5 separate regions of the Homo sapiens genome follow, and regions 2, 3, 4 and 5 are each linked to region 1. Evidence: promoter capture Hi-C in 16 types of primary human blood cells and fetal thymus (Javierre and others, 2016). All regions are on one chromosome and are shown on one strand. Each heading gives the region's core, a stretch centred on a gene start or on the middle of the fragment in contact. The rest is flanking DNA. Distances are from core to core; before and after follow the strand shown.

Region 1 (2,878 bases), core at 209-2,708:
CCCCTTCCACCTTACCTCTCTCATGGTCCTCTCCCTCGAATTCAGCCTGTCCTACTTGAAATTTTCCTCTCCCTTGAATTCAGCCTGTCCTACTTGAACTTTTCCTCTCCCTCTGAAAGGGCTACTCCCCTTTGCCCACCCACAGTGAGTGCCAACACCACCCAACAACAAAAGCCCAACCCACAGGCCAGCTTTTTAAAATGATCCTCCATTACTAGTGGAAATATCTTCAAAATCTCTCTTGCCCACTGCTCACTCAAGTCTAGCTTCCTAAATGGCCATGCTTTCTTTGGTATCACCACCTACAGTCCCTCAGTCCCTTTTTTTGAGACAGAGTCTTGCCCTGCTGCCCAGGCTGGAGTGCAATGGCTTGATCTCGGCTTACTGTAGCCTCCGCTTCCCGGGTTCAAGCGATTCTCCTGCCTCAGCCTCCCAAGTAGCTGGGTACAGGTGCCCTCCACCAAGCCCGGCTAATTTTTGGTATTTTTAGTAGAGACGAGGTTTTATCATGTTGCCCAGACTGGTCTCGGAACTCCTGACCTCAGGCGATCCACCTGCCTTGGCCTCCCAAAGTGCTGGGATTACAGCTGTGAGCCACCGCGCCCGGCCCGTTTTTGTTTGTTTTAATGCCGGGTCTTGCTCTGTTGCCCAGGCTGAAGTGCAGTGGTGCGATCATAGCTCACTGCAACCTTGACCTCCCAGGCTCAAGCAATCCTTCCACCGCAACCTCCTAAGTAGCGGGGACTACAGGCGCGCGCCATCACACCGGGCTAATTTTTGTATTTTTTTTGTAGAGATGTGGTCTCGCTATGTTGCCCAGGGTGGTGTCGAACTCCTGAACTCAACTGATCCTCCCGCCACAGCTTCCCGAAGTGCTGGGACTACAGGAATGAGCCACCGCTCCCGAACCGCTCCATGCATATCGATAGAGGAAAACTCACAGGGTGCGTCGCTGGTAACCCATGCTCCCATAAAGCCTGGCCTCTGGAAAGAGACTTGGGAACGAGCCCTGACGTTCTCAGCCGTCGAGCTTCACAGAGAAGGGTAGCTCGAATTAGGTTCCTTATCTTAAAGAGAATAACAGCAGTCACTTTCTCACAATCTTGCGAACGCCAAATGGAAGGATCCCTCGAGAGCGCTGAGAACTCGCCGAGCTCCTCCCGGGAAACCCGGTACCACGAGGCGCCATTTTGCGGATGGGCAAACCGAGGCCCGCGGGGCCGCGACTTACCCAGGCCTTTTTGCAGTGGGAGGCGACGGTGGAGGAGGGTGGTCTGGGACCGGGACAACAAAGTCCATCCTGCCGCCGGCTTCGACGCAGGTGCCAGAAAGGTCCCAACCCCGCCCAGGCAGGGCGAGGCGGCGCGGCCCAGGAACCTGTCATGGCGGCGCCGCTGCCCGACGCCGGAAGTGCCCGCCTGGAACTACAGCTCCCAGCAGACCCCGCGGCGCGCTCCGGTCGACGCCGGGGAAGCAGCCGCCATTGTCCGCGGCTGAGGTGAGGCCTTTGCTCAGGCTGTGGGGCCGCCGTAGCTGCGGGGCTTGGGGGGTCAGGAGAGCCGGCTGGGAGAGGCGGCGTCAGGGTGGGTCCTGCGCCTGCCCTTTCCGCGCCGGCTTTGCGCCGTCGTTGCCGTCGGTTCTCCAGCCAGCAGCCTGCCTCCGGCCTCCCGCCTCCGGGCGTTCTTCGTTTTCTGGTCGGACGGGCCTGGGTGAACTCTGCTGCACGTCGGCTCCGCGGGCCTTTGTCCCCGAGGCCGCGCCGGGAGCTCCCAAGCGCACTCCTGGGCCGGACCTCGGCGCGGGACAAAAGCCAAACGCCCCAGGCGGGCAGACCCCGATCCTGCTGCGCCGCCTTCAAGGGGGACCGCCGGCCGCGAGCCAGGTGAGGCCGGGACGAGCTTTTGCAGCGTCGCGGCCGCGTCGGTCTTGAGGAGGAAATTTGGGTCGGGAGCTCTGGAAGCAGGTGATAAGGATGCTTCTGAGGCCATTGATGGGACGAATAACCCCGTTCGTTCCCCAGCCGTCGTTTCTCCCCCTGCCAGTTCACACAAAGCACTGTGAAGGACGTCAGACCTGGGTTGGAAACAGCTCCGGGTTCCCTTAAACATGCAGTGACGGCGGCGGTCACTGTCAAGTTGCAAATAATGGTGCAAAGTACGGTTTGCATTCTGCGTTTTCGCGCTGATTCCGGTGCTCCTGAGGCCCACTGTGTGTTCTAGTGCTTTATACACATACCCAGGAATCCATTCGAGAGGTTGCTGACTTGTACAAAGATCTGGAACCTGAGGAGTTAGGGGTCTGGGCGCCAGGCCCATCTCTAAGTCCTCCACACACACACAAGCTTAGGCTTAGTAAATCTTGGAGGTGAATTTTTTTTGGAGGTGGGATTAAATTTGCATAACATAATGTTCACTTTAAGCACTTAAAAGTGTGCAATTCACCGGTTTTATTGTATATTAATAAAGTTGTGCAATCATCCCCATTATCTAATTTTAGAACATTTCATCACCCCACAAAGAAACCCTTGTTCCCCTTAAGCAGTCACTCCCCATTTCATTTTTCCCCCAGCTCTAGGCAACCACTAATATATGAGGATTGCAAGTTGATTTTACAATAATTGTCAGATTAATCCAAAAGTTCCATCTGTGTTGTGACTGGCTGTCTCTTGGGAATAGCTGACAAATTTGTACCCTCTCATTCAGGATCATGCTCTTTTTTCCAGCTTATGCAAATTACCTTTCATTTCTCTCCAGGAATTGTGTTACTTTTTTGACATGTAAATTCTCTTTTCTTACGATGCTCCTTACAAGTTTTTTTGTTGCTTCGGTGGATGGATTCCCTTCTTTGTTCCCACTTGGTCTTCTGTGAGAAAGGACTA
Region 2 (2,878 bases), core at 1-2,500, 760 kb after region 1:
GAGGAATCCTGTGGCTGTCTTGGCTTCCGGCCTGCCCAGGAGGCTTCCCCGAACTAGCAGAAAAGCAGCAAGGCCGAAACCTTGTCCACTCACCTGCGCCGGGTCCGTCAAAGCCATCGCCATACCGGGACCCTGTGGCCCTAGCGGGGCGGGGGCTGCGGCGAGCAGGGCGGGTCTCGCGGGCTCAGCCGAGCCCCACCCCTTCCCTGCGCCGGGCCCGGTGACCTTGGCTGACAGTCAAACTCTCTCGTTACGGGGAGGCTCACGGTTCGCTCCGAGACGCGGAGGTCGCTGTCGGCCTCCTACCTGCTCATTTCCCCAGCGCCGCCAGGGAGGCGGCCACGGAACACCGCCCCCTCCCTAGAGCCGGCGTGGACGGAACCGTCGCTCCCAAATTACGTCCCATCCAAATGCCGGAAGTCCCGCCCCAAGCTTCGCAACCCACAGGAAACGCCCCTGTCCTGGACCATCATTGGCCCCAGGGCCCGCCGTCGCACCTGGCAATGCCTTGTAGTTAATGTAGTTTTTCTCTACAAACCACCTGCAAAGGGGACAGATCCTGAGCCGGCAGGCCTCGGTGTAAAAGTCGCAGCGGGCCTACAGCCCGGCTCAGACCTGCCTCTGTCCTGGGGGCACAACTCGGAGGCCAGGGACCAAGCGCGAGACCGTCCATTCTTGGCCGGAGGAAATCGAGCCCCAGGAGTCAGGGACATTTGCCAGGGTCAGGGCCAGTGCAGAGACCCTGGACCAGGCTCCGGACTCTGACTTCCACCTTGCATTATTTCCCCTCCGGATCCTCTTATACAGATCAGCGGGCAGTCAGAGTAACCAAAGGGGGACGTCGGGCGGCGCGATGCCTCAGGCCTGGGATCCCAGCGCATTGGGAGGCCAAGGGGGGCGGATCGCTTGAGCCCAGGAGCTCAAGACCAGCTTGAGCAACATAGGGAGACTACCAAAAAAAAAAAAAATTTTTTTAAAATAAGCTGAGTGTGCTGGCGCACACCTGTGGTCCCAGAAGTCTGTGGCAGGAGGATCGCTTGAGGACAGGAGTTTGAGAACAGTCTGGGCGACAGAGCGAGACCTCATTGGTACCAAAAAAAAAAAAAAAAGAAAAAGAAAAGAAAAAAAATAGAGCGCGGTGGCTCACGCCTGTAATCCCAGCACTTTGGGAGGCCGAGGCGGGTAGATCACGAGATCAGGAGATCGAGACCATCCTGGCTAACACGATGAAACCCCGTCTTTACTAAAAATGCAAAAAATTAGCCGGGCGTGGTGGCTGGCGCCTGTAGTCCCAGCTACTCGGGAGGCTGAGGCAGGAGAATGATGTGAACCCGGGAGGCGGAACTTGCAGTGAGCCGAGATCGCGCCACTGCACTCCAGCCTGGGCGACAGAGTGAGACTCCGTCTCTCTCTCTCTCTCTCTCTCTACTTATATATACATATATTTATATATACATATATACATATATACGTATATATACATATGTATATATACGTATATATATGCACATATATATTTATATATATATTTATATATATATTTTTTGAGACAGGGTCTCGCTCTGTTGCTCAGGCCATAGTGCAGTGGCGCGATCACAGCTCACTGCAGCCTCAAACTCCAGGGTTCAAGTGATCCTCCCACCTCAGCCACCCAAGTAGCTGGGACTGCAGGCACGCACCACCACGCCCAGCAAATTGAGGGTTTTTTTGTTTTGTTTTGTAGTTTTTGTAGTCAGTTTCACCATGCTGCCCAGGCTGGTCTTGAACTCCTGTGCTCAAGTGATCCACTCACCTTGGCCTCCCAAAGTGCTGGGATTACAGGCATGAGCCACAGCATCCAGCCTACTCAAAAAAAATTTTTAATTAGCTGAGCATTGTGGCACACCCCTGTAATTCCAGTTACTCAGGAGGCTGAGATGGGAGGATCTCTTGAGCCCAGGAGGTCGAGGCTGCAATGACCTGTAATTGCACCACTGCACTCCAGTCTGGGCAATAGAGCAAGACCCTGTCCAGCTGGGACATGTTGCAAATGCATTGTCTCTCTTGGGCCTTCTTTGGCCAAGCTTGGTCTTCACATGGTCCAGCAACTTTTGCTTTAGGTATTGGCTGAGAGCCCTGGTAGAGTAGATTTGACATTCCTTAACGTGGGGAGTCTTGGACTGGGTGAGCTCATGACTCCAACTTTAAGCATGATCAGTTTGAAATGTCTGTATGACCACAGAGTGTCTGTGTCACAGCAGTTCAATCTCTGACTGAATATTGGGAGAGAAGTTGTGCCTGGACATAAAAATCTGGAAGTTTTTGGCAAACACTGTTATTTCAAGTTATGATACTGGACAAGACCATGAAAAAAAATGAGCATAGATGGAGAAAGGAATGGAAAGAGGTGAACATTGTTAAACAAAAATTACAGGAGGCCATTGTTTTGGAGCTCCTACAGCAGGCCTCACTGACCAAATCAAAATGGCGTCTCTCATACTAAATGTCATCTAATCAAACTGAAGTTTTAAGGAAGCAGACAGATCCCAGTTTTTCCTAAAAGCAGATTTCAGTCTACCTGAATTAGTGAAATTAGGAAGTCCCCTCTGCTTTAACCCTTAGAAAAAGTAATCTGTTAACCAATCAGCTTTTTTTTCTATTGTTCTATTTTATTGTTCCCACCTTACAAAACCCACTGTTCTGCCATTGCCCAGTGGGAACTCTAATTTCTATTGTGTAGAACAGAGATTGCCTCAATTCATGAATCACAAACAAAAGTCAATTAGATCTAAAACTAAATTTGTTGTAATTTTGGCCTTTTGACAACCCTGAACTAACTGGTTGCAAACAAGAAAGCAACAAAGTCATGTTAGGGTCATAACAATCTTTTAAGAATTAT
Region 3 (2,878 bases), core at 166-2,665, 680 kb after region 1:
CAGTTCCACCAGCATGAAATGCCATGACTCCTCATGTCCAAGACCACCTGCTAGAAGGAAGCCTGCTCAACTTGCAAAGTTTACTTTAGGTGTCACCCCCAGGCCTCCCTAACCATTGCGGGCAAAGAAGAGGGTAAAAACACAGGCTGTGATGGTAGACACACCAGTTGTTAGTTTCTGATACTTAAGAGCTACAGTGATGTAAGGCAGGTAATTGAACCTATGTGAGCCTCCAGCTGCTCTTGTGTAAAACAGTGAGGACAAGAGAACCTAATTCTAAGGAGTTCAGGATTAAAGGAGCTGAGGGTTAAATAATGCCTGCCAATCAGCCCACAGCAAGGACTCTTTATGATCAGCTGTCACTCTTTGCAATTATTTCGTTTCTCTTTGTTCACATAACATCCTAGACCAACTCAAACGGCAAGCTTCTTTAATATCGTCAGATTCTCTATACAAAAATGCCACACATTGCCAAAAATGGGCAAGTGCGTAAGGCGCCACTTTAGCCGGAATTGCCAAGAAAGCCACCTCCAAATAGGTGACATCTGGACAGAGGCCAGAAAGATATGAGAGGGAGGCCCTGCGAAGTTATAGGGGCAGTGTTCAAGGCAAAGGGAAGTGCAAAGAGAAAGCCTGGAAAAAGGAAGAAGACTGCACGGTCAGGTTGGTGGCTCTGAAGAGCAAAGGACAAGGGAAAAATGGAGAGACAAGGTCAGGGGTGGTTGGCCAGGTGGATGGGGTAGGGGCTGGCAGGCAACAGAGGAGGTTGGATTTAAGGGAAGTGTGATGAGATCCATGAAGGAAGCATCATTCATCCTTCTACCAAGGACTGAGCACCTGTCGGAGGCCAACACTATTGCAGGACTGCGGATAAAGGAAATGACAAGCTACGGCCACTTCTCTTAAATAAACGACGGCGACAAAGAAACATCCTGTGGCTGTCTTGGCTTCTGCCTGCCCACGAGGCCTCCAGAAGTAGCAGAGCAGCAGCAAGGCCAAAACCTCGTCCACTCACCTGCGCCGAGGCTGCCATCCTGAGACCCTGCAGCCCTAGCGGGGCCCGGGAATGCCGCGGCTCAGCCGACCCCCAGCCCTTCTCTGTCCTGGGCGGGGCGACCTCGGCTGACTTTCGCACTCGGAGCCTCAGTTTCCCCAGAGAAAAATGCGCACAAAGCGGGCGCAGCGTCGGGGCTGAGGAGACGGAGGGCGGCTGCGGAGGCCTAGGCCTCGGCAGGCGCCGGTGGAACACCCCGTTAGGGAAGAAGCGGGGCGTCAGGCTCCCGCCAAGATGCGGAGAAGGCGCGTAACAGCCTCATTACCCTCCCCTGCTCAGGCCGCTGGACGCGCCTACCCAGCGGTCCAGGCCCCACACTGTTCCAGGGCCAATCCTGCTCACGGAGATGACGTCACGCGACGAAGCGGAAGTCCCACCTCCGCCGCCCTGGCCCGCAGAAATCGCCCGTGTCCTGGCCCGTCATTGGCCTAGAGTCCGCGGCCGACGCAAGGGGTGGTGCCTTCTGAGTAAGGCAGTTTTTCCCTCACATCTACCGGGTGTGGGAACTCACCAAGCGCAGCCGACTCCATTTAAGTGCGCACAAGGACCCCCGCGTCGTCTTAGGGCCGCCGCTTTACTATGGGCACAAGTCGGAGGGTCGAAAGGTCCTTTCTAGCTTAGGAAAATTGAGGTCAGGAGGCGGGGATATTCGCCCCGATTGAGATCATGGGCTGGGCCCAGAGCTTCTGGCTCACTTCCCTTATTTTAGGGAGGTAGCTCATATATGTAATCTCAGTGCTTTGGGATGCCAACACAAAATAATTGCTGAGGTCAGGAGTTTGAGACCACCCTGGGCAATATAGTAAGATGTTATATCTACCAAAAAAAAAAAAAAGAGCAAGGCATGATGGTGTACACCTGTAGTCCTAGACACTGGGAGGCTGAAGCAAGAGGATTGCTTGAGCCCAGGAATTTGAGGTTATAATGAGATATGATGAGAGAAAACACACACACATAAACACACTGAGATGCCATCTTATACTGGTCAGAGTGGCTATTATTAAAAAGTAAAAAACCAACAGATGTTGGTATGGATGCAAGGAAAAGGGAACGCTTATATGCTATTGGTGGGAATGTAAATTAGTACAACCTCTATGGAAAACAGTATGGAGATTTATCAAAGAACTGAAAATAGAACTGCCATTTGATCTGGCAATTCCACTATTGGGTATTTACTTAAAGGAAAATAAACCACTATATCAAAAAGATGCCTGTACTTACATGCTTACTGTAGCACTATTCACAGTAGCAAAGTCATAGAATCAACCTAAGTGTCCATCGACAGATGATTGGATAAAGAAAATGCGATATATATATGTATATATATGTATGTATATGTATATATGTATATATATGTATGTATATGTATATATGTATGTATATGTATATATATGTATATATGTATGTATATGTATATATATGTATATATGTATGTATATGTATATATATGTGTATATATGTATGTATATGTATATATATGTATATATATGTATGTATATGTATATATATGTATGTATATGTATATATATGTATATATATGTATGTATATGTATATATATGTATATATATGTATGTATATGTATATATGTATATATGTATGTATATGTATATATATGTATATATATGTATGTATATGTATATATGTGTATATATATATACACTCCATGGAATACTACTCAGTCATTAAAAAAAATCATGGCTTTTGCAGCAATATGGCTGGAACTGGGGGGCCATTCTCTTAAGTGAAATAATTCAGAAACAAAGTCAAATACTGCATGTTATCACTTATAAGTGGTAGCTAAATGATGTATACATATGGAAATA
Region 4 (2,878 bases), core at 205-2,704, 590 kb after region 1:
AAATTAGCCTGGCGTGGTGGCGGGCACTTGTAGTCCCAGCTACTCGGGAGGCTGAGGCAGGAGAATTGCTTGAACTCGGGAGGCGGAGCTTGCAGTGAGCCGAGATCGCGCCACTGCACTCCAACCTGGGCGATGGAGCGAGACTCTGTCTCAAAAAAAAAAAAAATGTTTTACACATTCATAAATAAATAAGTTGCAGGGAGGGGATAAGCAAGCAGGTCAGTTACTGGTCCCATCAGCAACCAGGCCTGCCTGCTACAAATTCAGTTGCTGGAAGCTTGCTGGAGGCCCTTGACTAGATGTGAGAAAGCCCTACCCCCGTCTGGACCCAATGTCCCCACTAGTCTGGATGACCTTCCTATTGTTCCACAGAGTGGGCCTGGGGGGCTGCTGGGTCTGCAGGTGCAGAAATCTAAACCACCTCACACCTCAGTCTCCAGCCTAGGCCAGTTCCTTAACCCATTCAGAACTCCGTTTTTGCAGATATGAGCCAGAATCCCTCCTATGACAGGTCTGCGCCTTTCTAAAGGTAGCGTCAGGCTTATGGACCCACCCATGATCTGCCCTCCAAAACTCAGCCCTCCAAAATGCAACTCATAATCCTCTCTGAAACCTGCTCCCTAAGCTGACTTCTCCAACTCCATTCTTTCAGATTTTCAGGCCAAAACAAAATCCATGGAATAGACCCTTCACTACCCTCACTGCTACATTTGATGCAGCAGGAAATCCTGTCGACTCTATCTCTGAGATCCATCCAGAATCTCATCACACTTCCCCTCTACTGCAACCCCTCTGGCCCATCCCTACCATAACTCAAGGGGTCTCCTCAGCGGTCCCCTTGTCCTGGTTTAACATCCTGTTTTTCCCAACTTTAAACGTCTACCTCTGGGCATAACCCTTCCTGCACAGCCTTCTACGGCTTTCAGCAGCTCCGCTGCCCTCCCAGGCGAGACTCCGCCTCACCCTCAGCTCCGTGGAGACAAAGACGCTCGGGCTCCCCAGTGCCGCCCGCTCTGCAGCACCTCTAAGCCTCGCACGTGCAGGTCCCTGACAGGAGCTCCCCCGCCTCACAGCACCGCGGACACCGGTACCCCACACAAGAACGCTCCTCTCTTTGGGACACAGGGGCCTGACCTGCAGGGCCCCTCCTCGGGGCTTCGGCACTCGGAGGAGGGATCGGGCGGGGCGCCCTGGGACGCGGCACCCACCTCAGTCAGGTTCATCGGCGCAGCCTCCGCCAGCACAGCCAGGGAAGAGCGGGGCGGGAGCGGCAGTGACCTGGACGCTGACAGAGGCACCAACGCCTGCAACCGATTCAACCGAGCCTCACTCTAGCCTCTGTACAACGGGGAAACCTTTTCTCGCGTTTTTCCGCTTTTTCACCTCAGTCTCGACTCAGCCTGAAGGTGAACAGATCCCAACGCAGCCATATTGACAACCCCAGGAGGCGTTGCAGGAAGTCCCGCCCACACGCATTGCGAACCCCCGTAGACGCCGCTCTGCTAGGCCTTCATTGGCTACACTCGCTGCTTGTGTCCGCCGCTGTGTCTTTTGGGTAATGTAGTTCCCAGGCCACTGCCTGCCCCGCTTCTGAACTTAAGTTAACTCGCGTTCAGGATGAAAGCCAGGAGGATCCTCCTGAGGCTTTGAGAAATGCAGTTGCGGGGCTCCAAGGACGTGGAGGGGCTTCATTGGCTTTTAAACGGCAAGCATCCAGATTTTCCCGGAAGGCAGTCTAGAACAAGTCAGAGAAATGTTTCAGAGACCTGTCCTTTCAGATTCTGTAAAGCACAGCAAGTTCCCAAAAGACGAACATCCGAAGGAACATGGCCAACCATAAAGAACTGGTCTTCCACGCATAGCGGTCAGCTCTTTTGTGCTTGCCAAATACACACAGAACGAAGCTCTGGAGACTGTTTTATGATCTTCAATGTGCTCTGCTGGGCACATTGAAAAGACCCAGACATGGCATGATGGGGAGTTTGAGGAGTAATATCTTTCCTTTCTGAATAATCAGTTATTGTCTTTCAGCCTACCCAGCAACACTTTATTCACATGATACTTATTACTTTATATCTGAGATATTTTCCACTTATTTTAAGAGACTGAAACCTAACTGAAAAGGAAAAGCGACTTATCTACCATTATCTGCCAGAATAGTGTGGCCTTCCACCAGTCAAAGCCCTTGTGCAAAGAAAGCATCTTACTCCTGAGATAAAGGTTTGGGAATGCATGATCTCATCTCATTAGTGGAAAGTGATTTATCATTTCGCCTGAAATTGTATCAACAGTGTCTGCACAGGGAGTTGAAATTGTCTCTGAATAACTCTTGTGAAATGGCTATTACTGAAACTATTAATGACGATTATGTAGATATCCAAAGAAAGTGGCAAAAATAGTTATAGAGAAACATATTTGTGATAGGAGGAAAAAAGCTAAGGTTGTCCTGGAACCTTGGACACACTCAAGTTTGGTGTCCAAAATCTGATTCTTTTTCAAACTTGAAAACATTGTGCATTAACAGCTTGAAGGGAGAGGTAAAGACTATATATTAAAAGAGTTACCAGAAAAGTAAAGCTGAATAGGGAAACTGTGCTGTCGTATTTATTACTCTAACATATTTGATGAACACTCATTCGATGCCAGGTACAATACTAAGTGCATGGGACACATTAGGAGTAGGGTTGCTAGCTGTCTGTGGTCCTCTAAGACACGTAAGACGTATTTAATGAATTAGTCCTCAGTCCTGTATTGACCTTGTCAGGTCACTTTAAATGTCCTGTATTCCGCTTTTTACAATAAATTACAAAACCTCAGAAGTTAGAGCTATTTTTCTACCACTATAATTGTAAATTAAATCACTTAGCAGCTATGTTAG
Region 5 (2,878 bases), core at 203-2,702, 570 kb after region 1:
CAATCAGTTACTGGTCCGTTCAGCAAACAGGTCAGCCTGCCATATAATGCAGTAAAGGGAGCTTGCTGGAGGCCCTTAACTGTGGTGGAGGATGTGAGAAAGCCCTGCCCAGTTTTGGACCCAGTTGCTGCATGGCCTTATCTTGTTCCCTAAAGAGTGGCCCTCAGGGCCAGCTGAGTTAGAAGGGTGGAGTGACTACAATTATCTCATGCCTCAGTCTCTGTATTCCAGGGCAACTCCTTATCCATCCAGGCCTCTTTTTCAACAGAAACAGACCAGACTCTTAGCCCATATCTGCTCCCTTCTGCAGGGAGTATCAGAGATGCCCTCCCTACCATGGTCTTTCCTCCAAATCTGAGCCCTCCCCTACCTCAGCCCATATGAAAAAACGATGTAGGATTCTTCCTTCTCAATCTGATCCACAGGCCAACTTCTCAAGTGCACAACTTCTAACTCATTTAAAGCTCCAGGCCAGCTACCTTCCCTCACCTTTGGAAATTACGTCCACCTACCCATGTGATGTCGCCCAAAATCCAACCCAGGATCTTCTGTCTGAAACCCGCTCCTTAAGCTGATATCTCTAATTCCATTCTTTCAGATTTTTCAGGCCAAAACAAAACCTATGGAAGACACCATTCACTACCGACTTTCCCTCACAGCTATGTTTGATGCAGCAGGAAATCCTGTTGACCCTATCTCTGAGATCCATCCAGAGTCTCATCACATCTCCCCTCTACTGCAACCCCTCTGGCCCAGCCCTACCATAACTCAAGGGGTCTCCTCAGCGGTCCCCCTGCCCCCGTTCAACATCCTGTTTTCCCCAACTTTAAACTTCTAACTCTGGGCGTGACCCTCCCATTCGTCCTCCCTGCACAGCCCTCTATGGCTCTCTGCGGCTCCACTGCCCTTCCAGGGGAGACTCCGCCTCAACCTCTGCTCCTTGGAGACAAAGACGCTCGGGCTCCCCAGTGCCGCCCGTTCTGCAGTGCCTCCAAGCCCCAGAGACGTGTCGGTCTCCGACGGGAGCTCCCCCGCCTCATCGCACCGCAGTCCCAGTCCCGGGCACCCCACACAAGAACGCCCCTCTCTTAGAGACACAAGGGCCTAACCTGCAGGGCGGCTCCTTGGGACTTCAGCACTGGGAGGAGGGGTTGGGCGGGGCGGCCTGGGACGCTGCACGCACCTCGGTCAGGTTCATCGGCGCGGCCTCCTCCAGTCCACCCAGGGAAGAGCGGGGCGGGAACGGCGGTCACCTGGACGCTGACGGAGGCAGGGGCGCCTGCAGCCGACTCAGCCGATCCGCACTCTAGCCTCTGTGTAGAAGGAACACCGCTTCTCGCGTTTTTCCGCTCTTTCACCTCAGTCCCGACCCAGAGCTCTGGGACCCTCTAAATCAGTGAACAGATCCCTAGGTAGCCATGCTAACGCAACCATGAGGGCGCCGCCAGAAGTCCCGCCCACACAATTGAGACCTCATTAGTCGTCTCTCTGCTAGACCAATGGCTACACTCGCTGCCCTGCCCCCGCAGTGTCTTCTGGGTAATGTAGTTCTCACGTTGCTGCCTGTGTCGCCCGCAGTGTCTTCTGGGTAATGTAGTTCCCACGCTGCTGCCTGCCTCGCCTCACAATGCTGGGCGCGCGGACCTTACGGAAAAAAGCTGGAGGCTCCTGGAGGAGCGTTAAGAAATGCAGTTCCGGGGCTCTTAAGGACGTGGAGGGGCTTTGCTGACTCCTAAACTGCAAGTAACCAGATTTTCCCGGAGAGCAGTCTAGGACAAGTCTGAGAAATATTTCAGAGACCTGTCGTTTCAGATTCTCTGAAGCACAGCAAGTCCCGAAAGGAAGAACATCAGAAGCGACATGGCTGACCATAATGAACTGGTCCTCCATTCATAGCGGTCAGCTCTTTTGTGCTTGTCAAGTACACACATACTGAGGCTCTGGAGACTTTTTTTTGATCGTTAGTGTGCTTCTGTTGGGACAAGAAAGAAAAGACCCACACAGGATGTGATGGAGAGTTGAAGGAGGAATATCTTTCTGTCGACGAAAAGGGTGGAACTTTGTGAAATAGTTGAAGAGATTTATTCTGAGACAAATATGAGTGACTAATGGCCCATGACACGGCTCCAAGATATCCTAAGAACATATGCCCAGGGTGGCCCATCTACAGCTTGGTTTTAACAATTTAGGAAGACGTAAGACATCAATCAATACATGTAAAATGTACATTGGATTCCTCTGGAAAGGCGCAACTGGAAGGGAGGGGCGGGGCTTCCAGGTCAGGTGGGTTCAAAGATTTTCCGATTGGCAATTGGTTGAAAGAGTTTGTATCTAAAGACCTGGAATCAGTAGAAATGGTTGTCTGGGTTAAGGGGTTGTGGGCCGGGCGTGGTATCTCACGCCTGTAATCCCAGCACTTTGGGAGGCCGAGGTGGGCGGATCACCTGAGGTTGGGAGTTCGAGACCAGCCTGACCAACATGTAGAAACCCCATCTCTACTAAAAATACAAAATTAGACGGGCATGGTGGCACATGCCTGTAATGCCAGCTACTCGGGAGGCTGAGGCAGGAGAATCGCTTGAACCCGGGAGGCGGAGGTTACGGTGAGCCGAGATCTCGCCATTGTACTCCAGCCCGTGCAACAAGAGCGAAACTCCGTCTCAAAAACAAAAAAAGACAAGGGGTTGTGAAGACCAAGGTTATATCATGCAGATGAAGCCTCCAGGTAGTCTTATAAGGCCTTATGATAAGGCCTCAGCTCCTGAGCTAAAGCTATCTTCCCACCTCAGCCTCTAGAGCAGCTGGGACTGTAGGTACAGGACACCGTCCCTGGCTTTATTCAGCTTTTTACAATGCACTACAAAAAGTCGGCATTTAG

Evidence for each region. Contacts are between HindIII fragments. The CHiCAGO score rates a contact against its expected background, and 5 or more counts as called.
Region 2: a contact is called between a fragment that was not itself captured here and the fragment with the promoter of ZNF606 in region 1, in 1 of 17 cell types (naive CD4 T cells). The highest score is 5.3, in naive CD4 T cells.
Region 3: a contact is called between the fragment with the promoter of ZNF543 here and the fragment with the promoter of ZNF606 in region 1, in 10 of 17 cell types (naive CD8 T cells, total CD4 T cells, activated CD4 T cells and 7 more). The highest score is 16.3, in naive CD8 T cells.
Region 4: the fragment with the promoter of ZNF17 here is called in contact with the fragment with the promoter of ZNF606 in region 1 in 13 of 17 cell types (non-activated CD4 T cells, total CD4 T cells, naive CD8 T cells and 10 more); the score reaches 12.2 in non-activated CD4 T cells.
Region 5: the fragment with the promoter of ZNF749 here is called in contact with the fragment with the promoter of ZNF606 in region 1 in 12 of 17 cell types (naive CD8 T cells, non-activated CD4 T cells, naive CD4 T cells and 9 more); the score reaches 11.4 in naive CD8 T cells.

Annotation. Positions count from the first base shown.
Region 1 is chr19:58,001,400-58,004,277 of GRCh38, reverse strand. ZNF606 (zinc finger protein 606) reads left to right here and starts at 1,458. Exons shown (of 7, transcript NM_001348022.3): 1 at 1,458-1,882. ZNF606-AS1 (ZNF606 antisense RNA 1) reads right to left here and starts at 1,384. Exons shown (of 4, transcript NR_036508.1): 1 at 1,232-1,384; 2 at 942-1,067. RefSeq lists an enhancer at 1,107-1,526. The HindIII fragment of the contact is 14,498 bases long and covers 1-2,343 here.
Region 2 is chr19:57,238,137-57,241,014 of GRCh38, reverse strand. It overlaps ZNF805 (zinc finger protein 805), which reads right to left and starts at 383. Exons shown (of 4, transcript NM_001023563.4): 1 at 94-383. The coding sequence starts at 123. RefSeq lists a silencer at 86-155 and enhancers at 276-545, 566-785. The HindIII fragment of the contact is 1,631 bases long and covers 435-2,065 here.
Region 3 is chr19:57,319,009-57,321,886 of GRCh38, reverse strand. ZNF543 (zinc finger protein 543) reads right to left here and starts at 1,415. Exons shown (of 4, transcript NM_213598.4): 1 at 1,016-1,415. The coding sequence starts at 1,033. RefSeq lists enhancers at 1,317-1,466, 1,477-1,596, 2,522-2,878. The HindIII fragment of the contact is 3,609 bases long and covers 428-2,878 here.
Region 4 is chr19:57,409,737-57,412,614 of GRCh38, reverse strand. ZNF17 (zinc finger protein 17) reads right to left here and starts at 1,454. Exons shown (of 4, transcript NM_001330617.2): 1 at 1,209-1,454. RefSeq lists a silencer at 755-957 and enhancers at 1,201-1,260, 1,341-1,450. The HindIII fragment of the contact is 5,033 bases long and covers 280-2,878 here.
Region 5 is chr19:57,433,899-57,436,776 of GRCh38, reverse strand. It overlaps ZNF749 (zinc finger protein 749), which reads right to left and starts at 1,452. Exons shown (of 3, transcript NM_001023561.4): 1 at 1,184-1,452. The coding sequence starts at 1,198. RefSeq lists enhancers at 888-937, 1,568-1,867. The HindIII fragment of the contact is 4,352 bases long and covers 1-2,878 here.